2 separate regions of the Homo sapiens genome follow, and region 2 is linked to region 1. The links are contacts of gene promoters, found by promoter capture Hi-C in blood cells and fetal thymus (Javierre and others, 2016). All regions are on one chromosome and are shown on one strand. Each heading gives the region's core, a stretch centred on a gene start or on the middle of the fragment in contact. The rest is flanking DNA. Distances are from core to core; before and after follow the strand shown. Region 1 holds the start of RIPK4 (receptor interacting serine/threonine kinase 4). Region 2 overlaps UMODL1 (uromodulin like 1).

The links. The method cuts DNA at HindIII sites, captures the fragments that hold promoters and counts their contacts. A CHiCAGO score of 5 or more calls a contact.
Region 2: a contact is called between a fragment that was not itself captured here and the fragment with the promoter of RIPK4 in region 1, in 4 of 17 cell types (M0 macrophages, fetal thymus, non-activated CD4 T cells and 1 more). The highest score is 9.2, in M0 macrophages.

The regions. Positions count from the first base shown.
Region 1 is chr21:41,764,320-41,770,825 of GRCh38, forward strand. RIPK4 (receptor interacting serine/threonine kinase 4) reads right to left here and starts at 2,733. Exons shown (of 8, transcript NM_020639.3): 1 at 2,541-2,733. The coding sequence starts at 2,722. It overlaps LOC102724800 (a long non-coding RNA gene), which reads left to right and starts at 2,848. Exons shown (of 5, transcript XR_937745.3): 1 at 2,848-2,915; 2 at 3,540-3,698; 3 at 4,295-5,064. RefSeq lists enhancers at 1-445, 4,350-4,644. The HindIII fragment of the contact is 2,131 bases long and covers 1,973-4,103 here.
Region 2 is chr21:42,123,737-42,131,233 of GRCh38, forward strand. It overlaps UMODL1 (uromodulin like 1), which reads left to right. Exons shown (of 23, transcript NM_001004416.3): 18 at 2,609-2,754; 19 at 3,270-3,506; 20 at 3,936-4,095; 21 at 5,977-6,061. Among named protein-coding and RNA genes, the nearest start is that of UMODL1-AS1, 19 kb to the left of the region's middle. RefSeq lists enhancers at 1,017-1,790, 1,791-2,562. The HindIII fragment of the contact is 185 bases long and covers 1,668-1,852 here.

The DNA.
Region 1 (6,506 bases), core at 1,483-3,982:
AAGCAGCGTTGGCCAGTGAAAATCAGCCTCACCTGCACCTGTACCTGTGGTGGCTCCTATGTAACAAGTGGACTAGACCATCACTGACCCCCAGCAGCCTGGAAGAGGCCCAGACCCGTGTGTCAGGGGTGAGAGGGGCTGTCCCTCCGAGAAGAGAAGCAAGACTTAGGCAGAAGGGGTACAGGGCCGGGGGCTGCACACAAAGACCCTAGGAGAATCCTATGCCCCAATTCAGGGAACATCTTGCAAATATGAGGGGCTGGGGTGGGAGGCAGCTCGTCAGAAAAGCACTGAGAAATGTGGCAGGGCAAGTGGCACAGCGACTACTTCAAGGCCTAGGTACAACCTTGTGAGACTGCAATGCAACCAGCTCCTGGAGCACAGTGGGACTGATGTACATTCCTAACAAGAACCTCAGGCTCAATACAGTCAATAATTAACCTAAAGGAATCAGCTTCACAAAGAGCCAGGGTTTGACCAACTTCTCAGAAAGATCAGCCACTGCTGCACATGGCAAAGCCCCAACCTACTCTACCAGGCCCAGCAGAGCACAGGAGGTGAAATGCTTCCTGCTAGGCGATGCTGACCTCGACCTAGCCACCTGACATGCCACCACCTGTCTGCTTTGGGCAGGGTAGGAAAGGCTTCCAGTTAAAGTACAAAACACTTTTCAACCAAGCTATGCAATATCCTAAGTGATCCACCTTAAGTGGAGAAAGCCTCCCTCCAACCAGGCCACCCAAGAAATAAGGGACTGGTCGCTAGAAATAACAGAAGATCCTAAGGATGTGAGCTGGTGAGTCAGTCCAGGTAGGTGCTTGTTTACTTTGCTCTTCCAATATAAGAAAGTGGTGTGAAAATTTTCACTGATGATTAAAGCTCACACACATCCCCAAGAGATAAAACGAATGCCCCTATGGAGAGGGTTCCCTTTCAGAACCTAACCACTGGCTGGTATTCAAAGTGGTTTGGATTTCATCAAAATAACCACAGCACCCCTCCTGGCCTGAGAAGTTCCCAGAATCTGAGGCAGGGGAGAAAAAGTGCACAGCCTGGGCCAGCATCTCACCTTTGAACTAGTGGTGATTTGATGACACTCGTCACCACTCTACTGGTGTTTCCAAGAAACACTGGATTTGAGGGTTACGGCAAAAAGCCACCACTATCTCTGCTGTGTAGTCTCCTAGCCAAGGACGAAAATGCAAAGGGAGAGGACAGGCCTCTCATCCACAGAGGCGTCACAGTCACGGTATGGGGCTGCAGCACGCACTGCCACCCCAGACACAGGCATCACAACGATTCTGCAGAAAAGCTGGGGCTTAGCGGCCCCATCACTCAATCAGCCGAGCATTCGAAACCAGGTCTGCCAGGCAGCAAAGGCTAAATGGTATTTTAAAAAGGTGTCGCTTCTGAGTGTATGTGTTCAAGGAATCTCTAGGTAAAATACAAGCATAGCTTCCATGTAGAAGGTAAGCTTCATTAAAGGATAAATAATTAAAACGTGCTAAATTGAGCCTTACATATGAACCATCAAAATCAACTGTAAACAGTGAAATCTACAACAACAAAGAGGTACTGTTCAAGAACATTCTCCCTACCTCTCAAATTATGCACAGACGACAACCGACCCACCGAATTTAACACGGGCGGCTCTGCGTCCTTCCCATTCGTCTTTGTTACCTTGAACACTCCTGCTAGGTAGGTACAGGCAGGTTCCATTCTGACTTTTGGACTGGGAAACTGGGGTGCAGGAGGGCCCCATGGCACGGCCACAGAACTTGAATGCAAGGCCCTTCCCTAGCGGGTCGGTCTCGAAATTAAGTCAGCTAAAACGAGAGTGTGCGGCGAGGAAGCGCTGGGCGGACGGATCAACACCCCGGGCCCCGTGCCGGACCCCACTGCCAGGCCCGAGCCCCGGAGCTCCACCGCGCAAGCGCCGGGCGCCCGGGAAGCCTCGCCCGAGCCAAGCCGAAGCTTCCGACCGAAATAATTACAGTCTTACACCAATTTGTGTTCCAACGTAAATTACTAAGTAAGTCGAACGGAGGCTAACTCCACTCACAAAGCCCAGAGGCCCACATGGCAATTTTTCTAAGCCCTGCGCAGACCGCAGCGCCCCGGTGGGTCCCGGGCGGGCCGGACGCGCCTCCCAAGGGCGCGGGTCCGAGGCGCAAGGCGAGCTGGAGACCCCGAAAACCAGGGCCACTCGGGGAGTGTCAGGAAGCACGACTGGGCGCCTTAGGACGTCCGGGCAGACGCGGCCCCCGAGGAGCCCCAGAGGAGCCCCAGAGGAGCCGCCTGACCCGGCCCCGACGTGCGCGATCGAGCCCGGGCTCGCCAAAGCCCCCGCGCCCCTCCGGCCCGGACAGGCCGAGTGGACATTGTCGGAGCCCCGCGGCCTCGCCGGCAATTGGTTTCCCCCCCGAAGCTGCTCCGGGGGTGAGTTCGGGAGAGAGAGGCAGGACCCCGGGACCAGAGCACCCCGACCCCGACCCCAGCCCGGGCCCCAGCCGCCCCAGCGCCCCGCCCGGGCCGCTCACCTGTCGTCGACGTGCAGGCTGGGCGAGCACTTGATGGCCAGCCAGGTCTTCCAGTGGACATGGCGCACCTTGTACACCTGCCCGAAGCCGCCCGAGCCCACCTTCTCCCAGCCCGTGAACTCGCCCGCGTCGAAGGTGCGCAGCAGCGCCAGGGCCCATGGGGTCCCGCCGTCGCCCTCCATCGCGCACGTCTAGCCAGCGCCGCGGCGGCTGCCCAGGTGCCCAGGTGCGCGCTCCGCCCTGTTACGTCACTTCCGTAGGTCGTCCCGCCCCCAGGCCCCGCCCACTTACCCGCCCCCCGGGCGCCCTCTCTGCCAGCGCCCGGTGACTGCGGACGGATGAATAGACGCTGCGGGTCACTGCGCTCTCCCCTGGGTGAGCAGAGCTTCTCACGCTTCTCACGGGTCTCGACGTGCGCATCAGCTGCCCTGCTTTTCTTTGCTTTTTTTTTTTCCTTAATTGCGGAGTCACATGCAGTTGTAAGAAATCATTCACTTTGCCTAGTTTCCCCCAGTGTTACCACTTTGCAAAACTTTGCCAAAAAAAAAAGTCCAATCTCACAACCAGGATATTGACTTTGATACAGTCACCGATCTTATTCAGTTTTGCCGTTTTACTCGTCTTCCTTTGCATGTATTAGTTTTACACAATGTAATCATCTGTGTACCTTCCCGTATCCACCCCCACCTGGCCACTCCTGTGGCGATTTTACAGCCGCACCCCGGAGCCCTGGCATCACTAATCTTTCCTCTATTTCTAAAATTGTTTTATTTCAGAAATGTTATGTTTAGATACAGGAATCATACAGCGCCTAATTTTTTGAAATTGGCTTTCTTCACTCGTTAGTCTAATTCCCTGCAGGTTCACGTCTTGCTTTTTTACACGAGTTTCCTCTCAGAAAGTAACTTTTTTTAAAAAATTACCCAACAGCAAATCTAAAGTCCATTTCAAATGCAAGAGTTCCCTCATCCTTTCCTAAATAACAGCCTCTTTTTACAGGTAGAACAGATGGTTTGAAAAGGAAAGATTTTTTTTTCACATATGGGGAAAAAAAATTCCCAGCCTTGGAAGGATATTTGGGTTAGAGGCCGAAGTGCATCACAGATCACGCACGCGTCCACACCTCAGAAAACACTCACTCATTCCTGAGACGCAACGGTGAGTGAAGGCTTATTTTTGGCCACAGGAGATTAATAATGAAGACAGGAGGGCGGAGCTAAAGGAGAGGGTATTTTAACGACATTAACTGTGTTTTTGTGTTAGTAACTCGGAAAGAGAGAGGCTGCCCCAAGTCAGCGCATTGAAAGCCGCAGACCTAGTGTCTCCAGGCTCCCCCTTCCAAACGGGCGCGGACCTTCTTTCATAGCCTGTAGCGGGGAGCCGCGTCTCCCCACTGCCTCCCCACTCCCATCCGGCCGCTCTTTGGAGGGAACTCACACATCCCAACATGACGATGCTTGCTCGGGGGGCCTCCTGGGGGGACCAGGGAGCCACTTCCTTTCCCACATACTCCGGAAATTAAAGTTGGTCTCCTTAAGGCTGGAGTGGCAAATAGTTGTTTTAAGCTTGTCACAAATGTAACTTACATTTGGACTAATGTTTTAAAAAATAATTGGAGTTTTGAATCTACGAAGATACCTTGGAAGTAAACATAGTTATTATTTTGGTGGGAAAAAAATGAATGGACTTGAAAGTGAGTCACCTGTCCTGTTCCCGGGGCTCAGCTCTAGCAAAGTACCTTTCTCCATCTACAGTCTCCGGCACACAGCTCCGCAGCTGGGGGTGACTAAGAGCCCACACCACGCAAGTAATAAAACGCTCCAATTTCATTTATTTAATCATCTGTGTGCTTCATTTGACAAATATTTATGGAGTGTCTGCTGCTAGCTCAGTGCCTGGTGCCTGGGACTGAAGACCAGAGCCCCCTGGAGACCAAAAGAGCCAGCTCCCAGCTGTGAGCAGATCGGGTCCAAAGATCACGGGCTCGGCGGCAGGAACCTGGTTTGGTATCCGGCTCCTCTGCGGACTTTGAAGTGCTTTACCGATTCACATGACAACTGGTAAAACGAAAACAAACACCTTTCCAGGAATTGTGAATTCGAGTTCCAGACCCTCTGGGATTCCGGGAGCGCAGCTGCTATTTATGTTAACAGTCATTGGTCCCAGGCTGGTGAGGTTAGAATTTCCAAGTATAAAAGTAATTTAGTTTCGTTTTAAATACATTTTAGGGCCAAAGAAAAGTGGAACGATTTAAAGAAAAAGATGAAATGAATAATAGGGCAAGTTGGGAGGTGGCTGTCCTGAGGTTTCATGGGACAACATTAATTAACCTCATGAAGTGCCTGCATGGACAACGTGCCCGGTGTGGTTACAAACAAACCAATCAGCACAGATCCTGGGTGGAAAGCAGGGCGCAGCCACGGAGGCACAGTAGGGGTGCAGACTTGAAGGTTTTTAGGAGGTAAGCCCCGAGGGCACGAAGCTCCACGGAGAGACTGTTGACCCGCCTGGGAGTGCAGTGCAGGTGAGGAGGGGAGGGACGACGAGGGGAGACAATGGGGGGTGGGAGGTGGGAAGGAGGAGTTGGGGAAGGGGGCTGTCTGCTGACATTTGCAAGCCCCCACTCCCCCACTACCCTGTGTTCCTCCTGGCCCCTTCCCCAGAAGAATTCCAAGCCAGTTTCCTCCTATACTGGATGTCCTGACAGCGAATCTAAATAGGTGATCCCTTGAGCTCCAGGTCCCCAAGCTGTGCCCTTCTTCATAGGGGGCCATTTAGCACTGACCCACCCAGCAGGCAGCCCAAGGTCCCTGGTCTGGAAGTGCCAGGAAGCTGCCTTTAACATCCTACCGCAGGGAACAATGAAGGTTGCCGGCCAGGGAGAAGACAGGATAGAGACGTCTCTGGGTTTGCAGCCAGCCTGCCTCAGATGGGGTCCCAGGCTGTGACCATGGTGCATTTGCCTGTCCCTGACATGTGGGATAGAGGGACCTGCTTCGAGATGTCGGTGGGGATCCACGCAGATGATAATTATATGTGTGTGGCACATGCCAGGCCATGGGTGAATAGTGAGATTTTCAATTGAGTCATTTTCGTCTTTGTCCTTCTCAGGGTCCTGGAGCAACTCAACCCTTGTAAGTGCATGGCTCAGTGAGATCGTGGAGCTGACATAGGGCTGACCTGGCTCTCAGAGGCCCCAGAATAAAGCTGGAGCCCCTGGGGTCCACCTGCTGGCATGACCATGGGACAGGGGCGTGGAGCTGAGCTGGGTCAGCCACCTGGGAACATAGTCCCCTCCCGCCAGGCCTCTGCACCCAGCCTCCTCCCTGCTTAGTAGGCTCCTCCCTCCCCTACAACAGCCACTCCTGCCACCACTTGCATGGTTGTTTTTGAGAATTCCCTCCGCATTGTGTTATTTTCTAAAAGAACATAACTTGTTCACTGCAGAGATTCTGCCTTCACTAATTCTGACAAAGTGATTTAGGGGAGACATTGAGGGCCTGACTCGCGAGGGCTCCCAGACCACCTCTGGGAGACCCATCTCCACCTGACACCCAACTCCTCGCTCTTACTCAAGCAAATATTTTCTATTTACACAAACACTTCCTTATCAGAGACAGCTCCTCCTTTGACCCATTGGTTCCATGAGTCTTCCTGCAGGATCATACATTCCGTGTCCTGGGAACACAGCATAAAGGGTGCTGTTCAGCAACCTAGGGGCTTGTGTCTGATGGCAGAAGCCATGAAGCAGATGGGGGATGAATTATAATTGTAGTAATGCTACGTTCTAATCTGCTTTGCACCCTCATGCTCCACTCCATAGTCTTTAAATGTGGGGCTTCTTAAAACACCAATTTGGAGCCTCCCTGATCCTCCCCTCTTTCCCCAGGCAGCTCATCCAGGCTCACCTCAGCTTCCATGTATTCTACGAAGATCCCTAAGCTTCTGTCTGCAGGCCAGACCTTT
Region 2 (7,497 bases), core at 510-3,009, 360 kb after region 1:
TGTGCATGTGTGCGTGAGTTGAGCATGTGTGGATGCGTTTGTCCATGTGTGAGTGTGTATGTATGGGTGTGTGTTTGGGGGGCATTGGATGGCATTAGTCAGAACTGCTCTGTCGGAGGGACTGTGTTCCTAGCGAACATTCTCTATTTCAGGGTCCTGGATGGGCTGTGGGGCTCCCGGGACAGAGGGAGCCCAGGTGGGGAAAGTGGGTTTTCCTGGCCTGAGGCCTTCGCACCTCTGTGTGCACAGATGGGCTCTGGCACCTCCCCTTGCAGGTGACTCTGGGCCAGTGCGTCCTGGGTCTACTCTGAGCCTCTAGTGTGTGGCACCCATGAGGTAGCTGACCTGGCTCCAGGTCCTGCTTCTTCCCAGGGTGCCTCTGTGTCACAGCGAACGCTCCCATGCAGGCCCTTGTTCGTCTCCAACCCCACTTGGCCACATGGAGCACAAAGGCTTCGTGTTCAGGGCCCTGCTTGGGGGACAAGAGGAGGGGAGAGCCAGCACCTTCCACCAGCTCAGCCTGGTACTGGACACAGGGGCCTGGGCCGCATGGGCCTGGGAGTGCAGGGTGGATCAGGGAAGCTGCCTGGAGGGGCCGGCGGCTTCAGAGGGAGCCCGTGCCGGCTCTGGGTTGGGGAAGTGGCCTTCTGGGAAGGGGCTCGACCTAGAAAGGAGGCCAGCGTCGTTCCAAGGGTGAGTGAGAGAGCTGTGAATGTATCCAAGGGCCATGCCGGGGGTGGCTAGATGAGGGAGGCTGGAAACCATGGCGGAGTTAAGAGTCTGTCCGAGTGGTTCTGGTCAGGTGGGCAGGGATGGAAGGGTGGACACTCATGGGCAGGGTGGGGTATGAGGCCTGGTGGGAAAGTGGGGCTGTGGATGGGGCTGAGCAGGGAGCAGTGCCTGGCCTAGGAGCCAGGGCCAGAAGGCTCTCCTAATGGGGACATTGTCCTCATCGGGAGCTAGGCAGGAATGGTGGTTCCTGGTCGTTGGCGGGAACTCTGGGCCCTGGGCTTCTGTCCCTCAGGACCTTTGAGCAGTCCAAGGCATTGCATTCTAAAAAAAGGGATTGGTTGGGGTGGTGCCCTGAAACCACCGTGGACCTGCTTGGCTGAGAGTTCTACATGCATGATGATGTTTAGTCCCTTAGCGACCGCATGGGTCAGGCATCATCATCCACGCTCTGCGGCTGAGCCCTGGGTGCTCGGCAGGGTCCATGGGAGTTCAGGGTCAAAGTCAACCTGACACCGAGAAGCAGCCCCGTCCCTGTGGCTCTGCCTCTTGAGGAGCCTTGAGGGGGTGCTGCTTCTGGTTGGGGGTCTGGACACACTCCTTAGTGGGGACAGGGCGGCCTCTGGCACTGGATGGGTCAAAGCTGTCAGATGAAACCCAGAGTCCTGGCATGGGGTGTCAATGTCTGGGAGCCGACAAAGTGGGAACCGGGTGGACGTCCTGAGCAGGAGGCTGGGACATGGACCTTGGGGCTGAGTAAGGAGCTAGCCCTGGGGAGCAGAGGCCAGAAAGCCCCAGGGGCTGAGGGATGAGGTGGGGAGGTGGGGCATAAGGTGATTCCATGGTGTGGAGCCTGCTTGGAGCCTGGAGCTGGGACTGAGGGTGGCCAGGAAGCTGAGGGATTCACGTGGACGCGTCGGAGGCCATTGCAGAGCACAAGCTTGCCTGGGAGGCACAGCTCACTCTGCCGAGCTCATTCCGCCCCCTCGGGGGCTCTTCAGATCCTCCCTGGGCTGAAGGAGTAACCTGCACTGTTTCAACAGCTACAAAACCTTCCTCACCCTTCAGCCCCTCAAATGGCACAACTTAAGCAGAACTGCCCAGAATTAGTTTTCTCCCTCAAAGCTTCTTAGACGGCCACCTGGAGGCCGAGCGTTGGCAGCAGGGGGGTGTCTGCAAGGGGGATGGGCGGTGATCAGTGGCTCCTGTGGCTTCTCGGCAGTTTCCCTGGTGAGGGAGGTCTGGGGTGAGAGGTGCATGTGGGCCGGGCCACAGCGGCATCCTCAAGCCTATGCAGGGCTCTTGCAGGGCTGCGGGGCCAAGTGGAGGGGCTGAGGGTGCAGGACAGCCTGCCTGGTGCTCAGATCGCCACCCACACAGCGGCAGCTCCAGTGGAGAGACAGCGCCTCCCAGGACTGGGGCCCTGGGCAGAGCCTGCAGCCGGCAGCTCCCTCTGTGTTTTTCTGAACCAGACCAATGCTTGGCTTGATTATTAAATGCAGCAGGGTTTGGGGCATGTTGAAAGAAAAGGGAATTTGTCTCTGATGACTCACCCAGTCCCTGAAATCCACAAGAGCTCTTGACGGTTTTTGACACTTGTCAAAAACTAAGTTTCCCAGAAAGACTTATTTGTGCAGCTGCCACGGAATCCCCACAGGTTCAGGTGCTGCCTCCTCTGGTCAATAGGGAATGAGCAGAGGCCGAGCCCTTAGGCTCTTAGGCAGTTTATGGTTGGGAGAATCGCCAGGATCTCGATGCTGCTGGGGAGAGGCTTTAGAGAAGAACCCCCATCCCCCCAGCACCTAGAGCCGTGGCCCACAGCAGGGCGTGGGGGGCCGGCTGGGGCCTGGGAGCTCCTCATGCTCCGCTTTGTGCTCAGAACATGACGAACACCGTGGTGAGGACCACGCTGAGGAACGACCTGTCCCAGGAGGGCATCATCCACCACCTGAAGATCCTGAGCCCCATCTACTGCGCCTTCCAGAATGACCTGCTGACATCCTCCGGCTTCACCCTGGAGTGGGGGTAAGGGAGAAATGCCCCGGCTGCCCCACAGCCACGTGCCTCCAGACCACCTGCGCTTTGAGAGTTCTTTAGGGTGTCAACCACTTAAGGACCCTTCCTTGAGATGGAATATACAAATGGGTGTGGCCTGGCTGCTCCCCAAATTTTGTTCCCTCTTCCCACTCAGGGCTAGCCAGAGAAGGCCAAATATGTCCCGTGGCCAATCCCATGGGATGGCCCCACTTCCAGTGAGCCACTGGCAGGCCGCCACCCAAGCCTCCATCAGGCACCACTTTTTCTATAATGGACCCCCCACCTTCCACTGAGTCTCCACCTATACAACTGAGGGAGGCAACCCCTGGACCAGCCAGCCCTGAATAAATGGCCTCCAAGTGCTCTCGTTTGGGGTTGAGGGGGTCTTCTCGTTCATTTGCACGTTCCTCTGGAGCTGTGTTTTAGGGGAGAAGTGGGAATGGGAGGGGCCACGATAATGCGCCTCCTGAAACATGCCTCCTGCAAGCTGCTTCCTCTTGCAGGGTTTACACCATCATCGAGGACCTCCACGGCGCTGGGAATTTTGTTACCGAAATGCAGTTGTTTATCGGAGACTCTCCCATACCTCAGAATTATAGCGTGTCTGCCAGTGACGATGTCAGGATCGAAGTGGGGCTCTACAGGCAGAAAAGCAACCTCAAGGTGGTCCTGACGGAGTGCTGGGCAACCCCGTCTAGCAACGCCCGGGACCCCATCACCTTCAGCTTCATTAACAACAGGTAGGGCTCAGGAGTGCAGGCACCCCCATCCAGCAATGCCTGGGGCTTTATTAACAATAGGTAGGGCTCAAGAATGCAGACATCCCCATCCAGCAATGCCCAGGGCTTCATTAACAATAGGTAGGGCTCAGGAGTGCAGGCACCCCTGTCCAGCAATGCCCAGGGCTTCATTAAGAACAGGTAGGGCTCAAGCAGGCACTGCCATTGCCTGGCCTTGCTGTGTGGCCAGCTCTGGGCTCTGCAGGATTTCCAGGCGAGTGCTGTCATGGACCTGGGTTTTGGGGAACAAATGAGGTGCCCGGTCCTCGACTTCCACGGAGCCTGTGGAATCTGCGAGTGTCGTCAGATGTAGTCGTGAGTAAACTCATCTGAGAACAAGGACAGCGGGGCTCGCTGACAAGCAAGGAGTCCCATTTCCTCTCTTCTCAGCTGCCCTGTGCCCAACACATACACCAACGTGATTGAGAACGGCAACTCCAATAAGGCCCAGTTCAAGCTGAGGATCTTTTCCTTTATCAACGACTCCATCGTCTACCTGCACTGCAAACTCCGCGTCTGCATGGAATCCCCCGGAGCCACGTGCAAAATCGTAAGTGTTTTTTGGTTTTCTAAACGTTTGGTTGGATTCACGTTCCTTATTGTTACGGTTCGAGGCTCTGTTAATAAAAACCTAGGGCTCGAGTGGCTCGGGGCCAACCTCTGGGAGGAGTCGCTGTGCCTGTCCTGCAGACTCCGCGTCTGAAATGGTATTTCCACGGCAGGCAGCCCTTGGACGGAGGACTCATGTGGACTGGTGGGCATTTCCCATTTCTCAATGGCTGAGCTGAGTTCCTTCTTGAGGCCATAATATTCAACCGGCTGTCGCGTCAGCACTGCCTTGCCATGATACCTAGTGCTTCTAAGGTGATTTATAGGTGTAAAAATATTTTTTAAATATTATTTTTAACAACATTGATGGAACATACTAAATATCAGACACTCTGTTATTTAATAAAGTTTTTTCCCCTTTCCTTTGTTCAACAATCATGCAGGGATAATTTTACATTCCTGTTTTCCTTAGATTTTTGAATTTGAAATATGCTTTGTAATCCTGAGGTTTGAAAACTGTGCTTTATATCACAGACAAGTACATGAGGTTCCCACATGTTGGTCGCCTGTTGTCTGAGGCAGGGGACAGCTTAGGGAGCTCCGCTGCTTTTTGCTCAGTGACCGAATGCTTCTCTCTCCTCGGAGGTAGTGCTTGTTCCTGCTCTCATCTGAGCTGTTTTCCTGGGTGACCAAGCTCTGAGCGTCTGCAGGACGTGGATAGAGAAGCAACACAAGGAAGGCTGATTCTGTTCATGTCTGTTTTGCTCAAACACTAGATCTTCCTGAGCAATGGGACAGAAGGAACCTCAGGTCCTAATGACAGCAGGCTGAGGGCCACACACGAGGAGCCTGCCCCTGGTTCCACTGGAGCCTCAGAGATGACAGGAGCACGGACAGCCACCGCCAGGCTTCGTCTCTGCAGGGAGCGGCTGGCTCTCAAGTTCTCTACAAGAGAATTCTTTACAAGAGGAGCGGCACACAGTGTGTTTTTCAAGCTCCTTTAGGATGGATAGATAGTGTATGAGCTTTCCGGGCTGCTGTAGGAACGTACCACAAACTGAGCGGCTTAAACAGTGGAAACTTATTGTCTCTGTTCTGGAGGCAGGAAGTCCAAGATGGAGGTGTCAGCCGGCTGGTTCCCTCTGAGAGTTCTAAAGGAAGGATCTGTCCCAGGCCTCTCTCCCAGCTTCTGGTGGCCTCGGGCGTTCCTTGGCTGGTAGACGGCATTTGCCCTGTCTCTCGGTGTTGCCTTCCCTCAGTACACATCTATGTTTGTGTCCAAATTTCCCCTTTACAGAGGGACACCAGCCATAGTGGATTAGGGCCCACCCTGATGACCTCAGCTTGATGATCTGTTTCCAAGTAAGGTCACATGCACAGGTGCTGGGATTTAGGACTTCAATCCCTTTTTGGAGGACATGTTGCAGCCCATCTCAGGCATCTAGTGAGCAGATCCCACCATGTCACTGAGCCAGGCAGTCTTTTTTGTAAGGCAAAGGTGTAAAGGGGAACAAATGGCTGCAGCAACCTTTGGAGAACACAGAGGGACTCTGAGGGCTGTGACCAAGACACAGTCCTCAAGGGACCCAAGGAAGCAGCTCTAGCAACCAAAAGCAGCTCAAGGGGTCTTCTCCAGCCTGCTGCTCTTGCAGACCTCACTTCCTTCCCCGCTGACGCCTGGGCCTGCCTCTTGTTGCACCAGGACCCACCACCCTGGTCTCACCAGGTCTCCCACTCCTCTGTCTAAACTCAGCCCCCTTGCCTTGCAACTTCTAGCAGGATAAAATCGCATACATCACATTAGCATCCTTGATAGTAGCTCCTTTCTCATAAATGTTGTTCAATTAATTTGACGTTTCTCTTCTTGGAAAAAAAAAAACAGAATTGCAATAACTTTCGGTTGCTGCAAAATAGTGAAACCTCTGCCACACACCAGATGTCCTGGGGACCCCTCATCCGGTCTGAAGGTGAGTTGATGACTTGGTTTAGACAATGAAAGAAAAGATGCAACCGATTCCTTTTCACCAGCATGTAAATAAAAAAGTAACTGTTGTGAAATGCAGAACTCTTGAGAGACTTCTAAGAGGCTTATCATAACAGAAATACTCATAGTTAGTATTCACTGAGAGCTGCTACGTGTCAGCCTGGCACTAAGTTCTTTACATGCAGAATGTAATATGCTCCTCTCAGCAACCCTATGGAGCATGAGCTATTACCATACCCATGCTACAGATGAAAAGACTGAGGCTTCAAGAGGCCAGGCACAAAGTTACATAATGAAATGTTTTGAGCTGCATAATATCAAGCTGGTGAAGTTTTCTGACACTGGGTAAATACATCCAGTGGGCTGTTAAGAGATAAGAACTCAAGCTATAATCAGGCCATGTCAACGTGTGTGTGTGTGTGTGTGTGTGTGCGTGCACACGAATGTGCATGCACAAGGAAAAGCTATTTTATTCAAAAGATGCAAAAAATGGCATATCTGTTCCCCCTCAGTTTAAAACTTCCATTAGCCAATTACATTGCATGTATTTTCAAAACCCCACATCAACTTTCCAGAAAAACATTTTATTTTCTATATGGTCCATCATCTTATTTTGAAAAAAAAATACATTGGTTTGGGGAAAATTGTGTGCTTTGGGTATTAAGAGAGAAACCGCTAGTTGTCCCGTAGTATCTGTTCTCCTCCCCTTTCATAGAAATAGCGTCCCCAGGTTTTGCTGGTACATGGCTGCCAGGAATAAAAACTGTAATTCCAACCTCCTGGCAGCTAAGTGTGGCCATGTAAGTTCTGACCAATGACACGTAAGTGGAAAAGTCATGTGACAACTTTTAGAGGTGCACCCTCCTTAAAAGACGTCTGTGCCTACCCTCTGCCTCTTTCTTCTTTAGGGCTGTGGGGCCCAGTCCTTGGAGGGATCTGGCTTCCCAGGACACCATGGGCAAGTGGCCAAGGCAGGCCTGGGTTCTGACCTCCACTTTTTTTTTTTTTTTTTTGAGACGGAGTTTTTCTCTGTCGCCCAGGCTGGAGTGCAGTGGTGCGATCTCAGCTCACTGCAAGCTCTGCCTCCTGGGTTCACACCATTCTCCTGCTTCCTACTCAGTCCCGAGTAACAGGGACTATGGGCACCCACCGCCACGCCCGGCTAATTTTTTGTATCTTTAGTAGAGACGGAGTTTCACTGTGTTAGCCAGGATGGTCTCGATCTCCTGACCTCATGATTTGCCCACCTCGGCCTCCCAAAGTGCTAGGATTACAGGCATGAGCCACTGCTCCCGGACTGACTCCCACTTTTATGACAGAAGGAAAGAAACTTCCATGTCCTTTAAGCCACTGCTATTTTGATTTTTTTCTCTTGCTTGCTGCTGAGCCTAATCCTAGTTGGTTTTCCTTTTTTTGTTG